6 separate regions of the Homo sapiens genome follow, and regions 1, 2, 3, 4 and 6 are each linked to region 5. The links are contacts of gene promoters, found by promoter capture Hi-C in blood cells and fetal thymus (Javierre and others, 2016). All regions are on one chromosome and are shown on one strand. Each heading gives the region's core, a stretch centred on a gene start or on the middle of the fragment in contact. The rest is flanking DNA. Distances are from core to core; before and after follow the strand shown.

Region 1 (2,700 bases), core at 138-2,637, 1.0 Mb before region 5:
GCGGTAAACCGGCTGCAGGCAATTTCCAGGCAGCCGCCAGAAGTTACTGGCCAGCAGAGGCTCTTCTGGCCTTGGAAAAATCTCGGCCCAAGGTCACCTGTAGTCATCAGCCCATTTTCGGCGTCGAGTTAATCTTGTAAAATAGGATGACAGAACTCACTGACAATGGCCCTATTAAGAGACTCAGTTTGCAGTCATTTCAACTCTTTTGTTGAAAGCTTAGGGGCCCTAAAAAGGGCCTTTTTAGAGAATGACTGGGCTTCAAAATGCCATTTAGCCGCCGAAGCCATAGAGGGTGCGGCCCTGGCGCTTGAGCGCGTAGACCACGTCCATGGCGGTGACCGTCTTGCGCTTGGCGTGCTCCGTGTAGGTCACGGCGTCCCGGATCACGTTCTCCAGGAACACCTTCAACACTCCGCGGGTCTCCTCATAGATGAGGCCAGAAATGCGCTTCACGCCGCCGCGGCGAGCAAGGCGCCGAATGGCTGGCTTGGTGATACCCTGGATGTTGTCGCGCAGCACCTTGCGGTGGCGCTTGGCACCCCCTTTCCCCAGGCCCTTACCTCCTTTGCCGCGTCCTGACATTATCAAGTGGTCAGAGAACAAAGGTCTGCTGCCTGTGATGGCAGCTTTCTTTTATGGGTAACCTCTGCGGACCAGACTGAAAACCGGAAGAGCTTTGGCGGGAAGTCCCTCTGCATTGGGGGAGGGGACCTAAAAGGGAAACAGGCCTGCTGTGCTCTACTCCCTCTTGTTCTCCTTCAGTCCTTTTTAATCCTCAAGACCTAGGCTGTTTTTCCTTTTTTCATTTAACATGATTCCTGCCTCATAACAAAAATGTTAACATTATAGAAGATACATAAAGCAAAAAGAATGTTATCTCTGCATATATGCATGTTTTCCTTTAACATTATTTGTATGGAACTATGCTATTTTGTGGCATTTTTCTCCTTAATATACAATGGAAATATACTCCATATGCTAAATTCCTAGCAATAGAACAAGATAGACTCATAGAATTTAAAGATCGTTCAGGTATATTGCTAAGTTCTTTTCTACTTATTTTCATTTCTAGTGTTTGGGGTGGAGAATTATCCCCCCAAATATCGAGCTTGGTAATGGTGGGTGTTTTTGAAAATTGAGGGTTCTCAGAAACAAGTCTAAGAATCAAGGTCCCTCTAACTTTGTCCTGTTTCTCTTCCCCAAATACAGGGAGGGACTTTCTCTGGAATTTCCTGATATGACCAAGAAAGCTTCTTATCAAAAGAAGCACAATTGCCTTCGGTTACCTCATTATCTACTGCAGAAAAGAAGACGAGAATGCAACCATACCTAGATGGACTTTTCCACAAGCTAAAGCTGGCCTCTTGATCTCATTCAGATTCCAAAGAGAATCATTTACAAGTTAATTTCTGTCTCCTTGGTCCATTCCTTCTCTCTAATAATCATTTACTGTTCCTCAAAGAATTGTCTACATTACCCATCTCCTCTTTTGCCTCTGAGAAAGAGTATATAAGCTTCTGTACCCCACTGGGGGGTTGGGGTAATATTCTGTGGTCCTCAGCCCTGTACCTTAATAAATTTGTATGCCTTTTCTCTTATTAATCTTGTCAGTTGATTTTCAGTGAACTTTCAGAGGCCAAAAGGGAGGTTTTCTCTTGGCCCCTGCACCAGTAGCAGTTCCTGATATGCCTACAACCTTAACTAATGCTGGGTAGAACCATTTAAAGTAATCTAACTTTACTAATAAGGACTTGATTTCTTGTATATAGAAATAACTTTTCAAAAAGTTAATCAGTTGGTTAGTCAGCACAATACATTAACTATTTCCCCCACTGATTTGAGGAACTTATTATCATATACTGAATATATGAGCCACCGCACCCGGCCCATTTGGTGATTTTCTTGCTACTCTTTATTTTAATGAGTACCTTACAGCAGTGCTTGAAGTATTTTCAAAGTATTCCACTTAAATGTCATAAAGTAAATGAAGATAAACTTTTCATTAAAATACTTTAGAAATTTTTGCATTTATGTTGCAATAAAAGAAAACTTGCCATACACCTTTGGAAAACAAAAAAAAATTGATATGACTGGCTGTAACTTGCTGTAGCTGAATTCAGTATATGTTGTAAAGAGGGTAAGGTAGCATAGGTTAATTGAATACGTTAATCTAAGGGTAAATACAAATTAAAAATGAGAGGCTTAATTATCTGTTGAAAACAAAAGACTTCCCTTTCCTTTCCCATCACTTTCAAAATGTCTTTCTCTGTCCTTTTAAAATGTATGTAAATCCTTTTAATGGCTAAATAGGCCTTATAACTCAGAATATTTTCTCAATGCCTGGAGAGCCATCCCTTTGAAATGTTAATCATTAAAAAAGATAGTGGTCTGTCTCCCAGTTTCCAGCGAGAAAATGGGCTGAACTTTAGCTGTCACCTGACTTCGAATTGCAAAACCTATCCAATGTAGCCATACATAATAAGCAAGATTTCTTTCTGCTTTTGCAACCTCTTCATAAGGTTTCCTGTGATAAGCAACTCTCCCTGGTTTAATGCTTATTCAATAATAAAATTATTTCCTTTGTCTTCTTTGGGAGAAGATTTTAAAATTGTATTTCCCCAACATTAGTTAACAAGTATATTTCTCTACTTGAGCTTCTCACTAATCAGAAGCCTTTTTCTGTATCTGATTTCATGA
Region 2 (2,700 bases), core at 132-2,631, 1.7 Mb before region 5:
TGGCTGGCCAAAATTTGCCACTCTCCAATTTCTGGAGAGAGGCCAAGCATTTCAAGGAGAGGAGCTTGTAATGCAGAGGGGCAAGAGGCAGGAGGTGCCCAGTGGGTGTCTCATTCTGATGGCTTATCTTGAATTATTGTTTCACCTGGTGAAGGGGCCAGTGACATTGTAGGCCCAATCAAGTTACAAATTAATGACAGTCAATCTTGCAGATAATCTCTAGCCAAGAGTGAATATTGTCCTTGAATTAATCTCCTACTGGAGAGAGAATTCTGGAGATGTCTGGTCTGCATCAGGATTCAGCCCCTGAAGCTTCTAAGGAAATATATGACCAGATAAGTGGGCATGGTATGAGCTTAACAAGCATCCAGGTAAATAAATGAGCATAAGGCATGGGGGCATAAGATGCGAAAGGGAAGGCAGTTTTAATGCCCATTCCAAGGCAGTAATTGACGACAAAAGAAAGCACATCTGCAGTTTGTCTCAAAGCTATGTCTAGAAACTGGGGAGAAAGAAGAAAAGAAACAAAGTTTTTAAAACGTGGTTTGAAGCTAAGCTGCTTGGTTACCTTCCAACCTTCTGCAAGATTTTGCTGTTTTTTGTTATTATTAAAACAAGTAATAGGCCAGGCGCAGTGGCTCACACTTGTAATCCCAGCACTGTGGGAGGCTGAGTCAGGCAGATCACTGGAACTCAGGAGTTCGGAGGGGGAAAAAAACCAAGCCTGCGCGCTCTGAGCCCCACCCCCCATTCCCCATGGTGTCTGAGTAGGCTCCCAGGGCGAGCAGGATCCCTCCTCACAGGCGAGACTGGCTTCCTTGGAAAACCAATAGTCGGACTTGCGAGTTTTCCTCCAAGATAATTTTCTCAGGGACTTCTAAATGTGGTGCTGTACGCCTATGGTCCTAGCTACTTGGCAGGCTGAAGTCGAAGGATTGCTTGAGCCCTGGAGGTCTAAGCTGTAGTGAGCCGAGATCGCGGCCACTGCACTCCAGCTTGGGTGACAGAGCAAGACTCTGTCAAAACAAACAAACAAAACACACACACACACACAATGTAAACCAGGAATAGAAGGAAACTTCCTCAACTTGATAATGCCCAATTATGAAAAACATACAACTAATATCATTCTCAACAGCGAAAGACTGAAAATTTTTCTCCTACAATCAGGAATAATGGGTGCCCACTTTCACCATGTTATTCAGCACAGTATTGGCAAGGAAAAAGTAAAATTATCTATGTTCACAGATAACATGACTTTTTTTTGAGAGAGAGATGGGATCTCTCTTTGTCACCCAGGCTGGGATGCAGCAGAGCAATTATGCCTCACTGAAGCCTCGACTTCCCTGGTTCAAGCGATTACCCTGCCTCATCCTCCGGAGTAACTGGGACCACAGGCGCCTGCCACCATGCCCGGCTAATAAAAAAAATTTTAGAGACTAGGGTCTCGCTATGTTGCCCGTGTTGCCCAGGCTGGTCTCGAACTCCTGGGCTCAGGCGATCCTCCTACCTTGGCCTCCCAAAGTGCTGGGATTACAGGTGTGAGCCACCAAGCCTGGCCGTGACATGATTTTTATATATAGAAAACCCTGAAAATTACACACACACACTCAAACACACACACACACAAACTGTTACAGCAAATAAAGAAATTTAGCAAAATAAGGATAAACAACCACATGAGTTCCAGCAGAGAGCGCGGTGGGAAGCGGAGCGCGGCCAGCTGCTCTGGGGCCCTGCAGACCCTCTGGTCTTGGACCTGAGGAGGAGACGGGGGCCCGGCCCCGCGGCGGCCTCTGCTCTGCAGGCTCCCAGAGTCCTTGCTGTGTCTCCCACCGGCCAGGCCCAGGCCTGAGGCAGCGTCGAACCTCTCTTCACTTCCCACCTCGGTGACCTGGTGGCCCTCTGGTCTTCCAGAAAACCCTGCCGGGCCTAGACTAAGCCCCCGCTGGCCGCCAGGACGCAGCGCCTTTGTGTGGCGGCGGGTGTCGGGGGCGGGAAGAATCGCGCGGAAGCTGCCGGGGTGTGCAGGGACCGGGAAGGCGGAGCTAGGGATGCAGGTTCGGTCGCCTCTTTAGGCCACTGCGCCACGCAGATTGGGTCCAGAAGGTGCCGTTAAGTTTCTTCCCAGAAACTGTCAAGGTGCTGGTATGTTTCTTGCCCTTGCACTTTTAGTGTACTAAAATCAACGGCCAAACTCTACTCTTTATAGCAATCAAAGTATTCACCCATGCGCCCAATTTCTTTGCAAATGCCAAGCAAGAAAACCTCAGGTAGATGGAGGGAGCAGATAATTTGACTTTTTTTTTCTTTAATTTCACTATAGTGTCCTCCTCCACACATACAAGGATGAAGTTTTGTTTTTTAAGATGAAACAAATTTGTCATTAATGAAAGGATTGTCAAAATCTTCCCAAAGGTCCTCAGCTTCTGAATCACCTGGAAGCTTCTAAAAATTAAGACTTGTGGGCCATACCAGAGACCCTCTGCACTAGAAGGGGGTATGGCAAGGAATCTTAGGAATAGTCCACCTGGAGAATCACTAGCGTAAGTTCTGGGCCTCACATTCCCTCAGAAGAGTCCCATGAACCTGTGGTCAGCAGCTTAGGGCTGGTCTTCTTTACTGATCTGAGGGACAATGGGAAGCTTAGGACTCCCTGCATGGCATCTCTCCCGCCCAGGGGAGAACAGCTCAACAAAT
Region 3 (2,700 bases), core at 149-2,648, 1.7 Mb before region 5:
AGTGAAGGCCTTCTGGCAATGTTCTCTTTAACCCATGATGTGGGTTAAGAGGAGTGAACCAATGTTTTGTTTTTGATTATGAGGCAAAGCATGTACCTTTAAAGTTTCTTACCTACATTGGGCCTTCATCTTTTATCTATCAAAGTATAAGTTTACCCATTTAAAAAGCTGGTTACAAACTCCTTCGCAAGTAAGAGTATACACCATAAGTGCACATAACAGACACCTTTTCCACTTCTATTTTTTTGTAGAGGCATAAGCAACAAAAAATATTCGAAGATAAGTTTCACGACAGTAGAAGTCTTAATCTGTGAACGTGAGAAAAGCTGTTCATAGTAAGGATGCCATTCTCCTCTTGGGAGAAATTTCTTTGGTTAATTTTACCTTAAGGGTTCCAGTGGGCACACAGCTCCAAGAGCTTGGAGGGACCCTTCTCAGTTGTGAGATTATGAACTCAAAGTTCAAGATCCCAAAGTTTTGTTGTAGTGTGAATGGCAAGAACAGTCTTTCTCTGATGCTTCTAGAAGATTCAAATCATAAAAAGCTTTCTTTGCCTGTTGAAAATACACTGTAGTAATCTACTGTTATAACATCAGCCCTCTTGCATAGGAAACCTTTTATACAACCAGAAAACATGCACTGAAAATAACAAATGAGCTCTCAAGCTTGGTGTTTGCTTGGTGGGGACCCACGTGGGTTCAACATGTGTATTGAGAAGTGTTATTTCTGTTCAGGGCCCATCTACCCTGGTCACGGCATGATGTTCGTCCACAACAATTGCAAGTTGTTCAGATTTTGTAAATCTAAATGTCATAAAAACTTTTAAAAGAAGTGCAGTCCTCGCAAAGCTAGGTGGATCAAAGCATTCCAGAATGCAGCTGGTAAAGAGCTTACAGTGGATAATTCATTTGAATTTGAAAAACGTAGAAATGAACCTATCAAATACCAGCGAGAGCTATGGAATAAAACTATTGATGCAATGAAGCAAATTGAAGAAATCAAACAGAAATGCCAAGCTAAATTTATAATGAACAGACTGAATAAAAATAAAGAGCTACAGAAAGTTCAGGATATCAAAGAAGTCAAGCAAAACATCCATCTTATTCAAGCCCCTCTTGCAGGCAAAGAGAAGCAGCTGGAAGAGAAAATGGTACAGCAGTTACAAGAGCATGTAGGCATGGAAAACACATCTTAAAAATCTCTGTAACCATTTCTTTTATGTACATTTGAAAATGTCCTTTACAGACTTGGAACTGCTAAATTATTAGTTTATTTTTTACATAAGGTCACTTAAATGAAAAGTGATTAAAACATATCTTTCCTACATTGACATCTGCAAAACATCAGATATTACGAATGTTAGATTGCATCTCAGTGTTAAATCTTCACTGATAGATGTACGTATGTAAATCATGAAAATTCTACTTCTAACTATAGAAGTGAATTGTGGATGTAAAATGGTTATGCTATTTGGATAATGGCACTAGGCAGCATTTGTATAACAACTAATGGCAAAAATTCATGGCTAGTGATGTATAAAATAAAATATTCTTTGCAATAAAATATTCCGTTTATTAACGTTACAGAAGGGGGGATACAACAAGGAACTAACAATTTGTATAACAGTGTCAAATGTTATTTTGATTTTAGTATTTCCTGTTTTGGTTTATTTGTATCTTAGAAGAGCACAATGACATTGTTTGATGAAGCCTAATTATTCTGGACTGTTTTGACCTGGTTTAACCCTTCTGATAGGTAGTTGTGGATATTGGGGATGAGAACTGAATAATCTTTGCCTGGAGTGACACTACACTCTAGAATTTCCATTTTGGAGAATACTCAGTTCTAACTTGTGACTGCTGGTAGAACAAACTTTATTTTTCTAGCCTAGCAATGTTCTAGAAGCAGAGGAATCCCAGTGCCTTTTAAAAGTTATTATATGGTTTTCTTTTAAAAAGCTCCTGTTTTTGGAAAGTAGAATTTATGAGTATAACATCTGTTCATTATTTGCACATAAAATGAAACCATTTAAAAAGAAAAAATAAACAGAAAAAGAAAATAACAAATGAATAAAATTCCTTTATAAAATGTTTAAATGGGCGACCACGTGACCAAACATATCTGAAGCTTTGTTTTCCCAGGAATATGGCATCAAGCATTGGTTATAAACTATTTTAAACAATTTCAGTATTAGCTGGTTTAACATGAAATTATTTTCTTGATATTTAATTAAGTTTTTGTTTTACTTGGGTTAGTAGCTTTATACAAGAAAATTTGGTTGTTTCTGCAGTTTACAATAACTTAACATAACTATAATTAATAGCTTATACTATTTTAGAAATCCCATACAATTTTGAAATATATATTAGTATTATTCACAAAAATATAGCCTAAAGAAGATTGAGCATCATTTTGGCAATCCCATGTACCTAAACGTGTCAAATAATCCTGTTTACCTGTCTTTTCTGGACACTTCAGGGGCCCGCTGAAGTATTCAAAAAGCCAGGTGCCAGGGAAGAGATTTTTGAAACCGATGTTTGATTTTGGGAATTCCAGATTGCTATAAGTTATTTATTTTGCCAAAACGATGACTCAGAAATTTTAAAGAAGCAAAGACCTTTTATAACCCTTTTGTATTTAGTCAACATGTTCACACAGAGAACCTCTTCCGTTAAAAAAAAAAAAAGTAAAACATTCACA
Region 4 (2,700 bases), core at 11-2,510, 1.7 Mb before region 5:
TATTACTCAAATCAGTTTCCCTGGGCATTTGGGGAGCAGAGTTTTTAAGGATAACTTGGTGGATGGGGGGAAGCCAGTGAGCCAGGAGTGCTGAATGGTCAGAGATTAAATCATAGGGAGTTGAAGCTCTCTTCTTGTGCTGAGTCAGTTCCTGGGTGGGGGCTACAGGATCAGATGAGCCAGTTAATAGATCTGGGTGGTGCTATCTGACCCATCTTGAGTGCAGCGTCTGCAAAATATCTCAAGCACTGATCTTAGGAGCAGTTAGGGAGGGTTAGAATCTTGTAGCCTCCAGCTGCCATAATTTTTAATCTTGTGGCTAATGTTAGTCCTACAAAGGCAATCCAGTCCCAAGGCAAGAAGGAGGTCTGCTTTGGGAAAGGGCTGTTACCATCTTTGTTTAAACTATAAACTACAAACTAAGTTTCTCCCTAAATTAGTTCAGCCTACACCCAGGAATGAACAAGGATGGCTTGGAGGTTAGAAGCAAGACGGAGTTGGTTAAATTCCATCTCTTTCTCTGTCTCAGTCATAATTTTGCAAAGGTGGCTTCAATATCTGTCATTAAATTGCTGGAATGTTACTTTATTTTGCATTTGACTATTTTTTTTTTAAATTTTTATTTGAGATGAAGTCTCGTTCTGTCGCCCAGGCTGGAGTGCAGTGGCACGATCTCTGCTCACCACAACCTCCACCTCCCAGGTTCAAGCGATTCTCCTGCCTCAGCCTCCCGAGTAGCTGGGATTACAGGCGCGTGCCACTGCACCTGGCTAATTTTTTGTGTTTTTAGTAGAGATGGAGTTTCACCATGTTGGCCAGGCTGGTCTTGAACTCCTGACCTCAGTTAATCTGCCCGCCTCGGCCTCCCAAAGTGCTAGGATTACAGGCGTGAGCCACTGTGCCTGGCCCGATTATTTAATATCTGAGAAACATAAGAGGCTAAGAAAAGCTTTGAAAGAATGTCATCTATTTTATTTATGCTTATATTATGGCCAGGTTATATTTCTTTTTCTTTTTTTTTTTTTTTTGAGATGGAGTCTCACTCTGTTGCCCTGGAGTGCAATGGTGTGATCTCAGCTCACTGCAACCTCCACCTCCCGGGTTCAAGGGATTCTCCTACTTCAGCCTCCCAAGTAGCTGGGATTACAGGCACGTACCACCACGCCCGCCTAATTTTTTAAAAGTTTTTAGTAGAGACAGGGTTTCTCCATGTTGGCCAGGCTGGTCCCGAACTCCTGACCTCAGGTGATCCACCTGCCTCGGCCTCCCACATTGATGGGGTTACAGGCATGAGTCACCGTGCCTGGCCAACCAGGTTATATTTCTATAGCCTCTCCAAATTCTGGGAACGAACCCCACTTGAGGCCTACAACACTAAATTCCCACATCCCCAAAAGATGTACTCAAATATTGGAGCAGTTAGCACAGTCCAGACTATCAAATGTGTTGACCTGAAATCTATTTTCTGTATGGACAAGAAGACTACAGACTGAGAATTTTAATAGAAGATATTGCCATTCATAAGAATTGTGCTGCAGGAAGGAAAAGAGACGAGAAAACCTACAAGCTTAACCAAGAAAATGGATCTAACCTTCCATTCAGTGGCCCCCAGATCTTCCTGTTCCTTTCCATGCAATGAACAAACATAGGAGCTAGAACCTGGTTCCTTGGTGTAAAACAAACAAACAAACAAAAAAACAACAAAAAAAAAACAGCCAAAACTGAGGATCTAAGGTCATCTTGACCTTTGTGAGATCACCACAAAGAAACAAATGCCATTTTGTCCACTGTGTGATCACAAACAAGTCAGTGACACTCATTATACCAGTTTCCTTAACAGCAAAATAGGGGTGAAAATCAGCCTCATTTTATCAGGAAGTTGTATGATTGAATAAGACAATGAATAAGATATATGTAGGACAGGCATGGTGGCTCATGCCCGTAATCCCAGTACTTTGGGAGGCCGAGGTGGGCAGATCACTTGAGGTCAGGAGTTCAGGACCAGCCTGGCCAACATGGTGAAACCTCGTCTCTACTAAAATTACAAAAATTAGCTGGGCATGGTGGCACATGCCTGTAATCCCAGCTACTCAGAAGGCTAAGGCAGGAGAATCACTTGAACCCGGGAGGCAGAGGTTGCAGTGAGCCAAGACTGCGCCACTGAACTCCAGCCTGGGAAACAGAGCGAGGCTCTGTCTCAAACAAACAAACAAACAAACAAAAAAGACATATGTAACAGGGAAATAATTATCACCATGCATTAAGAGGAAAAGAATAATATAGAAATTACTGCAAATTATATTTATAAGTGAGGAAAATCACTCAGAGCCAGTAATTTTACCTCTATATGACCCCATCAGCCAGCTTAAAGGAAATTAACTTACTTAACCAAAAAAACATTTATTGAGCACTTAATATATGAGAGACAATATATTAGCATTGAGAATACACGCTGAAAATAGCCTGCTAAAATTCCTGTTCTTATGGTACTTTGAGGTGGGATTAAATTCCATAACATGTCATCACCTTGATAAGTGGTTTAGATAAAAATACAGCAGGAAAGGGGATAGGGAGCTGGAGATTGCATTTTTAAGGAGGGCATACAAATGAGGTCTCATTGAACTGTCATTGGCATAAACTGGTGAGAGAGTATATTGCTACCTGGGGGAAGCTGTTTGGGGCAGAAGGAACTATGAGTGC
Region 5 (2,700 bases), core at 38-2,537:
GTTCACTGCAACCTCTGCCTCCTGGGTTCAAGCAGTTCTCTGGCTCAGCCTCCCACGTAGCTGGGATTACAGGTGCCCGCCACCACGCCCGGCTAATTTTTGTATTTTTAGTAGACGGGGTTTCACCATCTTGGCCAGGCTGGTCTTGAACGCCAGACCTCGTGATCCACCCACCTTGGCCTACCAAACTGCTGGGAATACAGGCGTGAGCCACCGCGCCCGGACTTAGACCACTTTGTTTTGGCCAATAGGACAACAGCCATAGAACCCTCCGCAAATGAGAGCTTGTCCCTAAAGATGCTTTATTTACATAGCTGTGTGCCGCATGAGCCAAAAGGTGATAACCTTTGTTCAACACGCGCCTCCAGCCCTTCGGTTAAGTCCAAAGTACCATTCTTAGAATGCTCTAAAATACATAATTTTTTTTTTTTTTTTTTTTTTTTTTTTTGAGGAGTCTCTCTCTGTCTCCCAGGCTGGAGGGGAGTGGCGCGATCTCGGCTCACTGCAATCTCTGCTTCCGGGCTAGCTGGGCCTACAGGTGCAGACCACCACGCCCGGCTAAGTTTTGTATTTTTTTTGGTAGAGGGGGTTTCACCATTTTGGCCAGGCTGGTCTCGGATTCTTGATCTCAAGTGATACACTAGCTTTGGCCTCCCAAAGTGCTGGGATTACAGTCGTGAGCCACTGCGCCCAGCAAAATGCTTTTTGTGGAGCCAATCACTTTATTAGCGCTTACCTCTCTATGCCTACTTTATGCTTTGAAATTTTGTCACAGTGTGGCCGGTCATGGCAAACACAATTCATTCTTATGCAGGATGTCACGGTTATTTCTGTCATCCAAACTCATTCTCGCAACGCATTTCAGCTCTTTAAACGACTTTGTGAGCGGCCCTGAAAAGGGCCTTTGGGTTTTTTTGTTTTTGTTTTTTGAAGTTCTCAGGAGACCGCGTATTCTTAGATTCAGCCGCCGAAGCCATACAGAGTGCGCCCCTGACGTTTTAGGGCATATACTACATCCATGGCTGTGACAGTTTTGCGCTTGGCGTGCTCCGTATAGGTGACGGCGTCTCGAATAACGTTCTCTAAGAAAACCTTAAGCACACCTCGAGTCTCCTCATAGATAAGACCGGAAATGCGCTTGACGCCACCGCGCCGAGCCAAACGGCGAATAGCCGGTTTTGTAATGCCCTGGATGTTATCCCGGAGCACCTTACGATGGCGCTTAGCACCACCCTTCCCCAAGCCTTTTCCGCCTTTGCCGCGACCAGACATGATTCCTATCGCAGTGGAAGGTATGAACTGAAACAGTTCCTTAAATACAAACTTGGCGGACCTGATTGAAAACAACATGAGTTGGCGCGGTTTTTTTTTTTTTTCAAATTTGGTCACCAAGTGGGTGGAGCAAGAAAAACTGTTTCATTATGGTTCATTGTTTTGATTGGCCAGTGACAGCTTGCTCTTTGTGGGAGTGGAAGGGTGTTTGCAAGTTGAATGCGCTGTATTCCTGTCAGCTTAATGACGCTAAGCATAGCCCCATTCCACATTTCTTTTTATTTCCACTTGCTAACTAATAAATTACGGAATAGTTTATTGGGGAACATACAAATAATGTTTAAAGGAGGTCAGATTTATAGGTCAAGGGATTTACCCTCCCAATCATTTTAATATTTTTATTTAAACCAGGCATTTTGATGGCCTTCTCTGTGCTGGACAAGGTATAAGTTTGGCTATGAAGTTTCACTCCTAAAGACCCTATGTTTTGGGAAGGCAAAAAGGTAGCCAAATAATTGCAAATTAAAACCTCATAAGTGCAAACTTCTTCCTCGTCACTTTCCCTATCTCGATTCAAATATTTGTTGAATGACTCATTTTTCTGCAAAAGTCTGAGAGAGACAGGGAATATAAACTTAAGTCTGGATAATATGTTTTCCCGGGACGCTCTTCCTGGTCTGCTGTGCCTGTTTGCTGTGCCTGAAATTCCAAACACTCTTCCCTTCCCTCCGTTTTTAATCCCCTTTCAACTTGCTACAGCTTTAGAGAAAAGAACATTCGTTTTGTACAGTTGGGGATTAATTGAAGTGTAGGGCTAATACTTGATTAAGGTCATTACAAAATCTACAGGGTCTTCCTCTGGGAGGTTTTTGTGATAAGATTATTGGTGTTAAAATAAGGCTAATCCCCTTGAAAAATAAATAGAATAGCAGAATTGGGTCTGAATGTGGTTTGAAGAAAGGGACTTCTCAATTCAAAATTTTATTCTTAGCTTCCTGCGGGAGCTTTCCAGAATGCCCATAAGATCCACTTTTGTTTAAAAAACAAAAACAACCCCACCCACCACTCTCTGGTTAATAAATGAATTTCTATTGGGAATATTTAGAATGGGGCTGTGGCCTGTGAGAGACATTATATAGTAACCTCAGACTTGCTCACATGAAGAGAAGAAATCCAGGAATGGAGAAAAAAGACCCAGGAAAGGCCAGAATGCTCTACATGTCATATTGTTTGTATCACTTCTGAAATAATTGATTACATTCTTCTGCCCCAAATTGAGTTCTTAGGTTCTTCCACTCACTGTCCACATGCCACAACACAGACCTTATAACTAGAGACTTAGCTAGGAAGAAATGTCAAACATTACAGAGAAAAAATGCAGAGTCTGAGATCATAAGTAAAACTCTGAAATCTCAACATGCCTTTTAA
Region 6 (2,700 bases), core at 18-2,517, 1.4 Mb before region 5:
GGCAATTCAGCGAACGTGTCTCCGCCCAACCGCGAATCCTCTCCAGTTCCTCCTTCATTCCTCGGACGCTTTGTCAGACCCTTTTAAAAAAGAACTCTCGCTAGCCTCCTTTGTGACGCACTGGTTTCCGTCTATGTTCAACCATGGTTGGAGCCCTAGCTAACATAGGAGTTACAAATCCCGAAAGGTGCATCGGTTGGTTTCAAAGACAGGAAAAGCAGAGGTGGGACCAATACCTGCGCTCCGTTGAGGTAAAATAGATAAAGAGTCTGCAGATGTATTTTTAAAGTTCAGGATGCGTCAAGTGGCACGCAGAAGCTTTATCACGAGTTCCCTCGCCCCCAAACTGAAAGCAAATATGACATCGTATTTCCTCTCTGAAGTAAATACGATTCCTCTCTGTTCTCAGTAAAACATCCCGAAGTCGGCAAAAGTTCAGGCTGCGTTAAGTGGCACGCAGAAGCTCTATTACGAGTTCCTTTACTCCCAAACTGAAAGCAAATATGACATCGTATTTCCTCTCTGAACTGTTCTCAGTAAAACATCCCGAAGTCGGCAAAAGTTCAGGCTATGTTAGGTGACACGCAGAGGCTCTATCACGAGTTTCTTTACTCCCAAACTGAAAGCAAATGTGAGATCCTATTTCCTCGCTGAACTGTTCTCAGTAAAACATCCCGTAGTCGGCAGGATTCGAACCTGCGCGGGGAGACCCCAATGGATTTCTAGTCCATCGCCTTAACCACTCGGCCACGACTACACGAATGGAGAAGGCTCCCTTCACATCTTTAAACAGAATTTACACCAGCTAACTGACAAGAAACGGTCAAAAGAACAAAATACGGTAAAAATGGTTTCCTGGGCAAGAAACTGGAGTCTGCGAGTTCATTAGAAACTCTAACGTGAAGTGCAAGTTGGATAAGACAAGCCAACCTCTCTGGGGCAGCCGCAAGGAGTCCTTGCCCTATCAGCAGTACCGTTTCCAGAAAACTAGAGACCACTGTACCTCTCTCACCTGGACCCAAACTGACCCCGCAAGGAAGTGGAATCAGACCCTCACCGTAAATCTGGGCCTGACACATTTAGTTTTTGTTTGAAACTTCCTCTCATTGAGGCTCCTTGATGAATGCTAATGGCTTTCAAGAAGGGACTAACTTTTGATTTGTGTCTGAACTGGAGGGCCAGAAAATGATGCAGAAAAGCCTACTTGCACTTTCTTGCTCTGATGAGGTCCCTAAGTCTCTAGGCTCACACCAACCCAAGGGAGTATATCTACCCGGTCTCGTTTGCACGGCATTTTGCATTTCACAATGCGCTTCCACGCTTCAGTTGGGTTAAGAAAGAAATTTATAGATTGTTCATGAGTTCCCATGGAACCAGGTTACCTATCAAAAGGAAGATCCTACTTTGATTTTTGGCCAAGGCAGACGCTCCTTCTCTCAAAATCTAACCCACGCAGTATGTTTTCTTTTCCTCTTATGCTTCCGTCTTGAAGTCTAAAGCTGCCGGTCCTGGAGTTTCCCTGAGCCCTTTGGATGCACAGATTATTGTAATTGGCTTTCATCTACTTCTTGGAACCATATACTAATCTAAGAAAAGAGGGAAACAATCGCAAGCTAAGAAATCATGTCGACTAAGTAGATAAATGAGGAAGAGGGACAAGAAGGAAGAGGAAAAGAAGAAAGTGACCAGAAAGGAGAAGAGAGAAAGGAAGGAGGGACAGGAGGTAGAAAGAAGAGGATGAAGGAGAAAGAAGAGGAGGAAGAGGAAGAGGAGAAACGAAGGAAGACCGGGAAGGGAAGAGACAGAGATTTTCTGAGGACCCTTGTTAGAGCTCAGAAAATGATACCCCAAAGTATGGCTCTTGGAAGTGCTGAGTACTTTGAACTAAAGAAGCAACCTCAGAATCAAAGTCTCTCTGACCTTCCGCAGCCCCACTGCCTCCTGATCCTCTTTCTTTCTTGAATGGCAGGGAGGGGCTTTCACTGAAGTTTCCCTTATTTGACTTACGGAGGTTCCTCCAGAAGGAAAGAGATTGTCATGAACCCTCTCCTGGAATCTGTATTAACCAGAGAAGATTAACTCAGATCCCAGGAGAGAAAACTAAAGGTCTCCATGCCCGGGACATCTCGCCCAGCCAGACTTCAATTCTTTTCTTCACCACCTATTCTGAGGGCTGCTACTTGAGAGACTTTATCTGTATAATAAGACAAGCTTTGTTCCCAGAGCTGTTCCTGCCCTGACCCTCACATTGCTTCTCGCCACCACCTTCCAGGAGCCTTCAAGCTCCTATTTCTTTATGTAGCTCCAAGTCCTATTTAAGCTTCAACCATCTGCCCCTTCTTTGAGTCTCACTTACACTTTCTGGGACCTCTGTGCATATGTGCATAATAAATGTGTATGCCTTTTCTTCTGTTAATCTGTCTACTAGCAGCTTTATTTCTCAGACTCAAATATCCAACCTCCAGAAGGGAGAAAAAAGATTCTCTCACCCCTACAGGCTCAAAAGAAGACTAAAAGAAATTCACTAGTTTTATGGAAGACCATAATTTGAGGGAATAGACATGAAGCAGTTTGATGGGGTAGCCAGGTGTCCATACAAATATAAGTTGTGCTATAGATTGTTGTTCATAGTTAATGCATATCACATCCTTTTTATTTGGTGGACATATTTTTATCAAGCACATCTTTATTTTTTTTTGC

Evidence for each region. The method cuts DNA at HindIII sites, captures the fragments that hold promoters and counts their contacts. A CHiCAGO score of 5 or more calls a contact.
Region 1: a fragment that was not itself captured here is called in contact with the fragment with the promoter of H4C3 in region 5 in 15 of 17 cell types (total B cells, activated CD4 T cells, naive B cells and 12 more); the score reaches 13.8 in total B cells.
Region 2: a contact is called between a fragment that was not itself captured here and the fragment with the promoter of H4C3 in region 5, in 2 of 17 cell types (non-activated CD4 T cells and monocytes). The highest score is 6.4, in non-activated CD4 T cells.
Region 3: a contact is called between a fragment that was not itself captured here and the fragment with the promoter of H4C3 in region 5, in 1 of 17 cell types (monocytes). The highest score is 5.2, in monocytes.
Region 4: a contact is called between a fragment that was not itself captured here and the fragment with the promoter of H4C3 in region 5, in 2 of 17 cell types (fetal thymus and total B cells). The highest score is 7.1, in fetal thymus.
Region 6: a contact is called between a fragment that was not itself captured here and the fragment with the promoter of H4C3 in region 5, in 3 of 17 cell types (total CD4 T cells, activated CD4 T cells and monocytes). The highest score is 6.8, in total CD4 T cells.

The regions. Positions count from the first base shown.
Region 1 is chr6:27,137,194-27,139,893 of GRCh38, reverse strand. It overlaps H4C9 (H4 clustered histone 9), which reads right to left and starts at 612. Exons shown (of 1, transcript NM_003495.3): 1 at 216-612. The coding sequence starts at 585. The coding sequence ends at 274. It also overlaps a transcript of H2BC12 not described here. RefSeq lists enhancers at 1-63, 64-656, 419-798. The HindIII fragment of the contact is 264 bases long and covers 1,256-1,519 here.
Region 2 is chr6:27,756,718-27,759,417 of GRCh38, reverse strand. No RefSeq gene overlaps it. Among named protein-coding and RNA genes, the nearest start is that of TRV-AAC1-5, 4.6 kb to the right of the region's middle. The HindIII fragment of the contact is 2,133 bases long and covers 315-2,447 here.
Region 3 is chr6:27,779,115-27,781,814 of GRCh38, reverse strand. It overlaps the pseudogene RSL24D1P1. Among named protein-coding and RNA genes, the nearest start is that of TRQ-CTG6-1, 11 kb to the left of the region's middle. The HindIII fragment of the contact is 1,462 bases long and covers 668-2,129 here.
Region 4 is chr6:27,798,390-27,801,089 of GRCh38, reverse strand. No RefSeq gene overlaps it. Among named protein-coding and RNA genes, the nearest start is that of TRQ-TTG3-3, 3.8 kb to the right of the region's middle. The HindIII fragment of the contact is 618 bases long and covers 952-1,569 here.
Region 5 is chr6:26,102,520-26,105,219 of GRCh38, reverse strand. H4C3 (H4 clustered histone 3) reads right to left here and starts at 1,287. Exons shown (of 1, transcript NM_003542.4): 1 at 883-1,287. The coding sequence starts at 1,272. The coding sequence ends at 961. RefSeq lists enhancers at 925-1,615, 1,640-1,749. The HindIII fragment of the contact is 10,429 bases long and covers 1-2,700 here.
Region 6 is chr6:27,476,869-27,479,568 of GRCh38, reverse strand. It overlaps TRS-AGA2-2 (tRNA-Ser (anticodon AGA) 2-2), which reads right to left and starts at 757; the gene lies at 676-757. The HindIII fragment of the contact is 1,893 bases long and covers 321-2,213 here.